Linked DNA regions of Homo sapiens: region 1 is linked to region 2. The links are contacts of gene promoters, found by promoter capture Hi-C in human tissues and cell types (Jung and others, 2019). All regions are on one chromosome and are shown on one strand. The core of a region is centred on a gene start or on the middle of the fragment in contact, and the rest is flanking DNA. Distances in the headings are between cores, read along the strand shown.

Region 1 (4,516 bases), core at 543-3,042, 330 kb after region 2:
TAATATGGTATATTTATTTATTAATGTATTTATTTATTTATTTTTGAGACAGAGTCTTACTCTGTCACCCAAGCTGGAGTGCAGTGGTGTGATCTTGACTCACTGCAACCTCCACCCGCATCGAGCTCAAGCTGTCCTCTCACCTCAGCCTCTCAAGTAGTTAGGACCACAGGCACATGCCACCATGTTAGCTTTTGGTATTTTTGTAGAGATGAGGTTTAGCCATGTTTCCTAGGCTGGTCTAGAACTCCTGGGCTCAAGATATCCATCTGCCTCGGCCTCCCAAAGTGCTGGGATTACAAGCATGAGCCACAGTGCCTGGCCCATATTTATTGATTTATATATGTTCACCCATCCTTGCATCCCTGGGATAAGTCCCACTTGATTATGGTGAGTGATCGTTTAAATTTACTGTTGAATGCAGTTTGCTAGTATTTTGTTAAAGATCTTTGCATTTGTGTTCATCAGGGATATTGGCCTGTAGTTTTCTTGGGGTGTTCTTGCCTGGCTTTGGTGTCAGGGTAATACTGGCCTCATAAAATAAGCTCTGAGGTAGTCCCTGTTTTATAATTTTTTGGAAGAGCTTGAGAAGGATTGGTATTTCTTCTTGAGCACTTAATGGGATTCACCTGTGAAGCCATCAGGTCCTGGGCTTTCCTTTGGTGGGAGATTGTTTATTACAATTCAATTTCCTTATTTATTATTGGTCTACTCAGATTTTCTGTTTCTTCCTGATTCAGTCTTGGGTTGCATGTTTCTAGGAATTCATCCATTTCTTCTGTGTTATCCAATTTCTTGGTATTTAGCTGTTCATAGTAGTCTTCTATGATCCTTTGTATTTCTGGGATGTTGAAAGGAGTTAGTTAGCTTGCTTTAGGCAGACAGTAAGTAAAGGATCCCCAGAGAACCTCTGACCCACCCCACAGGTGCTTACACCAGATATTTTGTGCAGATAAGGGAACTTGCACAGGGGGCTTGCCTAAACATGCCCACAGCACACTAAGGGCCCACATGCACACTGGAGGAATATGTGGAGCCACCAGAAATTCACGCCTTATACAGATAGGGAGCTCAGCCTCATCAGGTTATATATAAAGCCCTTGTATTCAGCTCTGAGGGGGCAATGACTAACCTGCTTTCAGGACCCCTCTCTTTGCTGAGAACATTCCTTTTGCTTAATAAATTCTACTCCAGTCACTCTTCAAGTGTCTGCGTGCCTAATTATTCCTGGTCATGAGACAAGAGCCCAGACCTAGCTGAGCTAAGGAGTAAAAAATCCTGCATCAATATCAGTTTCCTCTTTTTTTTGTCTCAAGATATTTTTAAATTTTCCTTTTAATTTTTTATTTGACTCATTGGTTGTTGAAGGGCATGTTATTTAATTTCCACATAGAGTTTTCCAAGATTCCTCCTGTTATTGATTTCTAGGTTTGTGCCATTGTGGTCAGAAGAAATACTTGATAAGATTTCAGTCTTCTTAAATTTGTTGAGATTTGCTTTGTGATATATCATATGATCTACCCTGGAGAATACTCCATGTGCAATTGAGAAAAATGTATATTCAATTGTTGTTGGATGAAGTTTTCTGTAAATATTTGTTAGGTCCATTTGGCTTAAAGTATAGTTCAAGTTCAATATTTCCTTGTTGATTTTTGGTCTAGATCTGTCCAATGTTGAAAGCGGGACATTATTGTATTGCAGTCCATGTCTCTCATCAGATCTATTAATATTTGCTTTATGTATTCGGTGCTTTGATATTGGGTGCATATATAATTGTTATATTTTCTTTATGAATTGACCCCTTCATCATTATATAATAACTTTTCATATCTTTCTGCAGTTTTTCACTTACAGTCTATTTTGTCTGATAGAAGTATAGCTACTCCCACTTTGTGTTGGTTTCCATTTGTGTGGAATATCTTTTTTCATCCCTTCATTATCAGCTTATATGTGTTCTTAAAGGTTAAGAGAGGTGAAGTTAATCTATTGTAGGCAGCATATAGTTGGGTCTTTTTTTTTAATCCATTGAACCATTCAATATGTTTTGACTGGAGAATTTAATACACTTACATTCAAAGTAATTATTGGTAGGTAAGAACTTACTATTGGTGTTTTGTTGTTTTCTGGTTAATTTGTAGATCTTTTGTTTTCTGTTTTCCTCTCTTGCTTGCTTCCTTTGCAATTTAATGATTTTTTGTAGTGGTATGCTTTGAATTCTTTCTTTTTATCTTTTGTGTATCTACTAAGAATTTTTCCTTTGTGGTTACTAGGAGGCTTACATAAAACGTCTTATACTAATGACAAGCTATTTTAAGCTTATAATTACTTCACTTTGATCACTTGTACAAACTCTAAACTTTTACTATCCCCTCCAACAATTTGTTTTTATTGACAATTTTTAAATAGTTTTTGGCATGTCCATTAGCAAAGTATAGTTGCTATATGTGTTTTGAATAGTTTTTCTTCTTTTAACCTTTATATTAGAGATATAATTTATTTTCATACTACAATTACAGTACAAGTGTTCTGTGTTTGACTATATACTTACTTTTACCAGTGAGTTTTTATTTTTATGTATTTCCATGTTGCTACTTAGTGATATTTTCCTTCAATGTGAAGTGCCCATTTTAGTATTTCTTGTAAGGCAGGTCTAGTTGTGATAAATTCCCTCAGCTTTTGTTTATCTGAGAAAGTTTTTTTTAAAGCTCCCCTTCTTCTCTTCCTTTTTGAAGGACAGGATTGCTGAGTGTAGTATTCTTGGTTGGCAGGGTTTTTTTTCTTTTAGCTCTTTGACCATATCTTATTCCCTTCTACCCTGCAGGGTTTCTGTTGAAAGATCTGATGGGGGTCCCCTTTTATGTAACAAGTTGCTTTTCCCTTACAGCTTTCCTATCTTCTCTTTGTCTTTAACTTTCCACAATTTGATTATAATGTATCTTGATTTGGTTTGCCTTGGATTCATCCTGTTAGATGTTTGTCAAGCTTCTGGATTTCTGTTTCCTTCCCTACACTTAGGAAGGTTTTCGCAATTGCAGTAGATTCTTGTTTAATGTTCATAGGTTCTTGGAAACTGCAACTTTAACCAAAATGATTTATAGCGGCTTTTGAATAACATCATTTTACTCAATGTCATTTCATTATGTTGATGAGAAAAAAATTCCTTTCATTATATGTTGTTTTGCTTTAAGTCAGTTTCCAAGGATCTATCAGTGACATTAAATGAGGACTTGCTATATGTCTTTGAATATATTTTCTGTCCCTTTCTCTCTTCCCTTTCTTGTACAACAATAATTCACATATTCTGTTTAATGCTGTCCACTAAGGCTGTTAGGCTGTTTCACTCTTTTTCATTCTTTTTTCTTTAAAAATCCTCAAATTATGATTTACCAATGACCCGTATTCAAGTTTGCTAATTCTTACTTCTGCTTGATTTATTCTACTGTTGAACCTCCTTATTGGTTTTTTCATTTCAGTTATATTATTATTCAGCTTGATGGTTTGTTTGGTACTTTTTAATATTTTCTGTCTCATCGTTGAAGTTCCCAGTTTTTTCATGCATTGCTTTCCCTACCTCAATAAAAATTGTTATGACTGCCCTTTTGAATTCCCTGTCAGATAAATCACATATTTACATTTCATTAGAGTCACTTTCTGGAGATTTAATTTATCTTGTTATTTTATTTGGAACATATTTCTATGTTTCTTCATTTTCCTCCGTTCCCTATGTTGTTTTCTGCACATTAGATAAAAGAACCACCTTTCTCAGTCTTGCTAGACTGGTCTTGTGTAGGAGATGTTCCTTTCCAATCAGCCTCTTCAAAGATTGTTAGAATCCACTAACCTCTTTGTGCTTGTAAAATCTGCTATTTTTTATTCTTATTGTCCCCCACCGCCAACCCAAATTAAAGTTTCAAGTCATTGCCTATGAGAGGTGGGATAGAAGCCAGTCCCTTGAAATGAAGCTGGAGAGACTGAGGTGTTAGTTGTGTGTTCCAGTTTCTTTTTTCTTTGCAGAGAAGCTTTGAGCAGAGTTTAATCTCCCACTCATTCTGCCCTATACCAAGGAGAATGTCTGAGGCGGATGCTTATACTCTTGATAGACTGCTCACATTGGACCTGGAGAGATTGCTGCTGAACATTTTCAAGTTAAAAAGCCACGTTTTTGTTCTTTGTTGTCTACGAGACTCAAAAATGAAGAACTCTGTCAACTCCCAGACTAGGAGCCTGTCTCTTGGGTGAAGGCTATAAAAGAGCACTCCGTGTGTATGGAAACTACTTCTGGAGAAAGTCTGCAGATCTGGATTTCTTGCTGGCACAAGCCAGAGGAAAAGGTGTAGAGGGAGTGACTGCTCTCCTGTCTGAACAAGCAGAAATCTCACACCCTCCTGGCAGGGAGAAACTTCTGGTCTAGAGTTATTACTAAAGCAAGCCATAGGGGAAGGTGCAAGGAGTGCCCACTTTCCCTTTCAGACATGAAGAAGCCCCTGCCCTGCCCTATCCCCCCCACCCCCGCACC
Region 2 (3,876 bases), core at 267-2,766:
AAGAAAACCTAGAAGGAAGAAGGTATCCCAGGATAGAAGCAGCAACAGCCGGCTGAAACCCAATTAGATTGCAGGAGAAAGAGAAAAGCCCTGTCTTAGTCTGTGGCCAAAAGACCTTTCCCAATCAAATTTTTCAACACCTGGAAAATTGGCTTATCTATTTGTAGAGAGCACCCAGAGACGAGCGTTAGAGCAGCGCTACCCTGGAGTACCAGTTCTTCGGAATGTTGACCGCCGGCCACGCACCGCTTGACAGCCACGGATCCGCTGGCGGAGCCGCAAGTTACAACCCAGGCGCCTGGCAAACTCACACTACACCTCAGTAGCAATAATCCCAACGGCAGGACACCTGGGGAGGGTGGGCTCGGTCTCCCGGGCCTGGCTCAATTATGTTCCTTTACACAGCATTCAATCATGTTTCAGGAGCCGTAGGTGAGGGGCTGGAGGTGGGAGTGGGGGACACATTTTCTAGCCCCCGACGTCTCCGCGGTTGGAAACTCTGGGCACCTCTTTCGGCCAGCGCTAAGACAATACACAAAGAGCAGGGAACCGGCGCTCCTCTGCGGCCAGAGCTCCGCGCCTAGTCACGGAAGAGCTGGGAATTAAGAATTCCGAGCTCAGCGAGAGCCCTGAAGAAGCACCGGAAATGCTTCCGATCGCTTCATAAGAGAAGTCAATTTGCAAATCAAAGTTGCAGGAACTCCGGACGCCTAGACTACTTCAGCGGGTTACTCGGGAACACCCAACAAGTTTGGCCACCGGGGGCTCGGCATGACAGCGCCGCGCCGCGAGACGACAGAAGCAACTTGTCGCTCGGGCGCCAAGCCAGAGCCCTGAGCCGTCTCCGCTCCCAAGCTCGGGAGAGCACCCAAGAGCCGGCGTCGGGAAAGCGGAGGTCCCTGCCTCCGGCAGCCAAATCCCTCAACTGAAGGCACCTCAGGGGCTCACCTGGACTGCACTCGCTTCCAGGGGCTTCCCCCAACAGTGCAACGCTTCACCGCGAACGCCTCACCTGCCTGCCAGCCCCAGGTGGCGGAGAAATTAACAAAAGAGCAAGCGAACAGGGGGAAAGGGAGACCCGGCGTAAAGTATAGTAAGGAGGGGAGGGCAGGCAGCTCGGCTTTCGGCGGAGAAAGAAGAGAGAGGCGGAACAGAGATGGCTTATACCCAAGGCACCGGCTCGGGAAGGCAACCCAGAAGGGAAGAGGTCGAGAAGCGGCAATGGGTTTTCTACTCCGCTTCCCATCACACACACACACGCACACACACCTCCCCCTTTTTCCTCCTTACCCAGCATGGAAAAGATGAAATCCTTGGCTGTGTGAATCTCCAGCGCTCTCTGGTCGTCGTATTCCCGCTGGTCGTGCTTCGTAAATTCTTGGATGAGTTTGTTCAATTCCTCCACCCGAGCTCCCGACCTGAAATCCAGCTCCGGGAACGCAGGCTTGTTGTTACAGCCCAGGGAGGCTGCCTTGTTGGCGGTGGGAGCCGCCATCTTCATGCAAAACGCGCCGAGTAGCAGCTCCGCGGCAGCGCGGCACCCACCCCCGCCCCCCACCCCGCCCCCCTGGGCCTCCTCCCCTCGCAGGCTCCCAGGCTTTGGCCCCGGCTCGTGGGCGGGTTGGCGGGCGGGCGTCTGGGCGGGCAGTCCCCCGCTCCGTGCGCTCTGGGCGTGCGAGCTTCGGGAGGAGCTGGACTGCAGCGAGGGTGCGTGTGTGGCCCCGACACCCTTTTCTCCGGCCCCACGCCCGCCCCGATGCTGCGCGTCCCTGCCCTGCCCTGGCCCTCTCTGGCAGCGGCAACGGCGGTCGTAGAGCCAACTGGAGCCTCCCCCGGGCGAGGAAAGTGAAGTGGAAACAATGTGAAATTCACCAGCTCTGAAATCAACAAGCTGCCGGCTCCGGTGTTACGGAGCCAGCACCAGCGTCTCCATTTAAAGGGACAGCGCACCCAGTGGAAAGGAAAATAAATAAATGACAGAGGTCTGCACGCATATACCACTTGCCAATCCGTACTTGGGAAGACGCGCGAGGTGTGGATGCATTCTTTCTCCACCTCCACGGCCGTCCCCCCATCCCCTTTCTGGGCAGGGTTTGCCAAGCGCATTCAAGGAGAAGAAAGTCTTCCTCCGTTTGATTTTAAGGGCGGTGTCCTGGGGGAGGACATCTCTGTGCGCGTTTACCTCTCTATCCCAAGAACTCCAATACCTTTAAATAGTAAAGGAAACTGCCTTAAGGAATATGAAACCTGTCTTCTACCCTTTTCCTCTTGGATTGCCAAGATGATAGGATTGAGCGTATAAAAAAAGAGGGTCCACATCTAACCCAGTATTGGCACTCCCACTAACCCCTAGATATCCCTACCTTTGCCCAAGGTAATTAATGACCTGAATAACAGCTTATTTATCTTAACATATAATGAGTTAATGAGATTCAACCTACTCTAATATAAAGATAGGGAAACTGAAGTGTGGGTGTGGGAGAGGGGAAACAATGTATTGCCCCAGGTTCCAAGAAATGTTGGATGACAAGATGAAAATTTTCTCATTCAACAGATAAAATTTGAGTACGCACCATTTGCCAGATGGAGTGACAGAATGTGACAGTGATAACCAAAAGACATGGCTCCTACCATGGAGTTAGGCTTACATGACAAGGCAGGTTCAATCTAAGTCATAGTCCTTTAGGCAGAATAGAGTCTCAGAGGTGGTTTTAGTGTTTATGGGGTGTATCATTCAAACACTTAGGAGGCCCATTGGCTGTGAGAAACATAGGTTATCTTCCTCCCTAATTCTCCAAAATCTCTCTTCTCTATCCCACAGTCCCTGATTTAGATCAGGTCTGTTTCACTTTCTTACCCGAGTTCTCATGGCCAAGAATACAAATTGTTTTGTTAGACATGGAAGGAAGTACGGACTCTTCCATGCCTTCCCCTATAAAATGGGAATAATAATTCCTGTCTCACAGGTTGTTTTAAGGATTACGTGAGATAAAACAGGTCAAGCACTTAGTTCAAGGACTGACATAATAAGTACTTAGCTATTATCAGCTTCTACTATTATTGTTATTAATTCTTTCACTGTTCCTCAATCTAGTAACAACTTGTTGCCAGAGTGATCTTTAGAAAACACAGACCTGACCACTGACCTCCCCCTGGAATTCCTCTCTTCTTTACTCCGTTTACACCAAAACCAATCCGCGTCTGCCTTTTTCTTACAGCTTTCCGGAGACCCTCCCCTCAAGCTGGTGGCAACTTTTCCTTCCTCAGAACCTACTCTCAGAAGCTTTCATATGATGCTAATGAATTTTGACCTTGCTTCATCATTGCTTTTTGTTTTGGGTTGTGTGTGTGTGTGTTTGTTTGTTTCTGAAACAGGGTCTTCCTCTGTAGCCCAGGCCAGAGTGCAGTGGCACAATCGTGGCTCACAGCAACCTCAACCTCCTGGGATTAAACAGTCCTTGCATCTAGATCTCTCAAAGGGATTACAGGCGTGAGCCACCACACCTGACCACTTCATCATTGTTAATGCAAGTTTTAGACTAAAAGATTCTTGGGGATGAGGGCTACATCTTATTCATCTTTGTATTTCCTGCAGCATATGGTCCTACCGAAGGGTCCTCTATGTTTATTGAATCAAGTAATGAGTGAAGAATTGTGGCATAACCAGTTAATTTCTCTTACTTTTCGTTTCCTTCTCTTTGAAACACACTTCCTCACCCACTCAGTATGAAAGAGAGAGGATCCATGCCTAGATAAATGCTGGTGGACTGATGAGGAAGTGACTTAAAAACTCTGGTTTTTAGGCAGGGCGTGGTGGTTCACGCCTCTAATCCCAGTACTTTGGAGGCCGAGGCGGGCAGATTGCCTGAGCTCAGG

Evidence for each region. The method cuts DNA at HindIII sites, captures the fragments that hold promoters and counts their contacts. A contact is called where the count stands out against the background at its distance.
Region 1: a contact is called between a fragment that was not itself captured here and the fragment with the promoter of MB21D2 in region 2, in 1 of the 25 tissues and cell types used here (dorsolateral prefrontal cortex).

The regions. Positions count from the first base shown.
Region 1 is chr3:193,246,338-193,250,853 of GRCh38, forward strand. The region is part of intron 1 of PLAAT1 (phospholipase A and acyltransferase 1); the gene reads left to right. Among named protein-coding and RNA genes, the nearest start is that of MGC2889, 6.8 kb to the left of the region's middle. The HindIII fragment of the contact is 3,416 bases long and covers 85-3,500 here.
Region 2 is chr3:192,916,340-192,920,215 of GRCh38, forward strand. MB21D2 (Mab-21 domain containing 2) reads right to left here and starts at 1,517. Exons shown (of 2, transcript NM_178496.4): 1 at 1,291-1,517. The coding sequence starts at 1,501. RefSeq lists an enhancer at 483-812 and a silencer at 1,463-1,822. The HindIII fragment of the contact is 14,649 bases long and covers 1-3,876 here.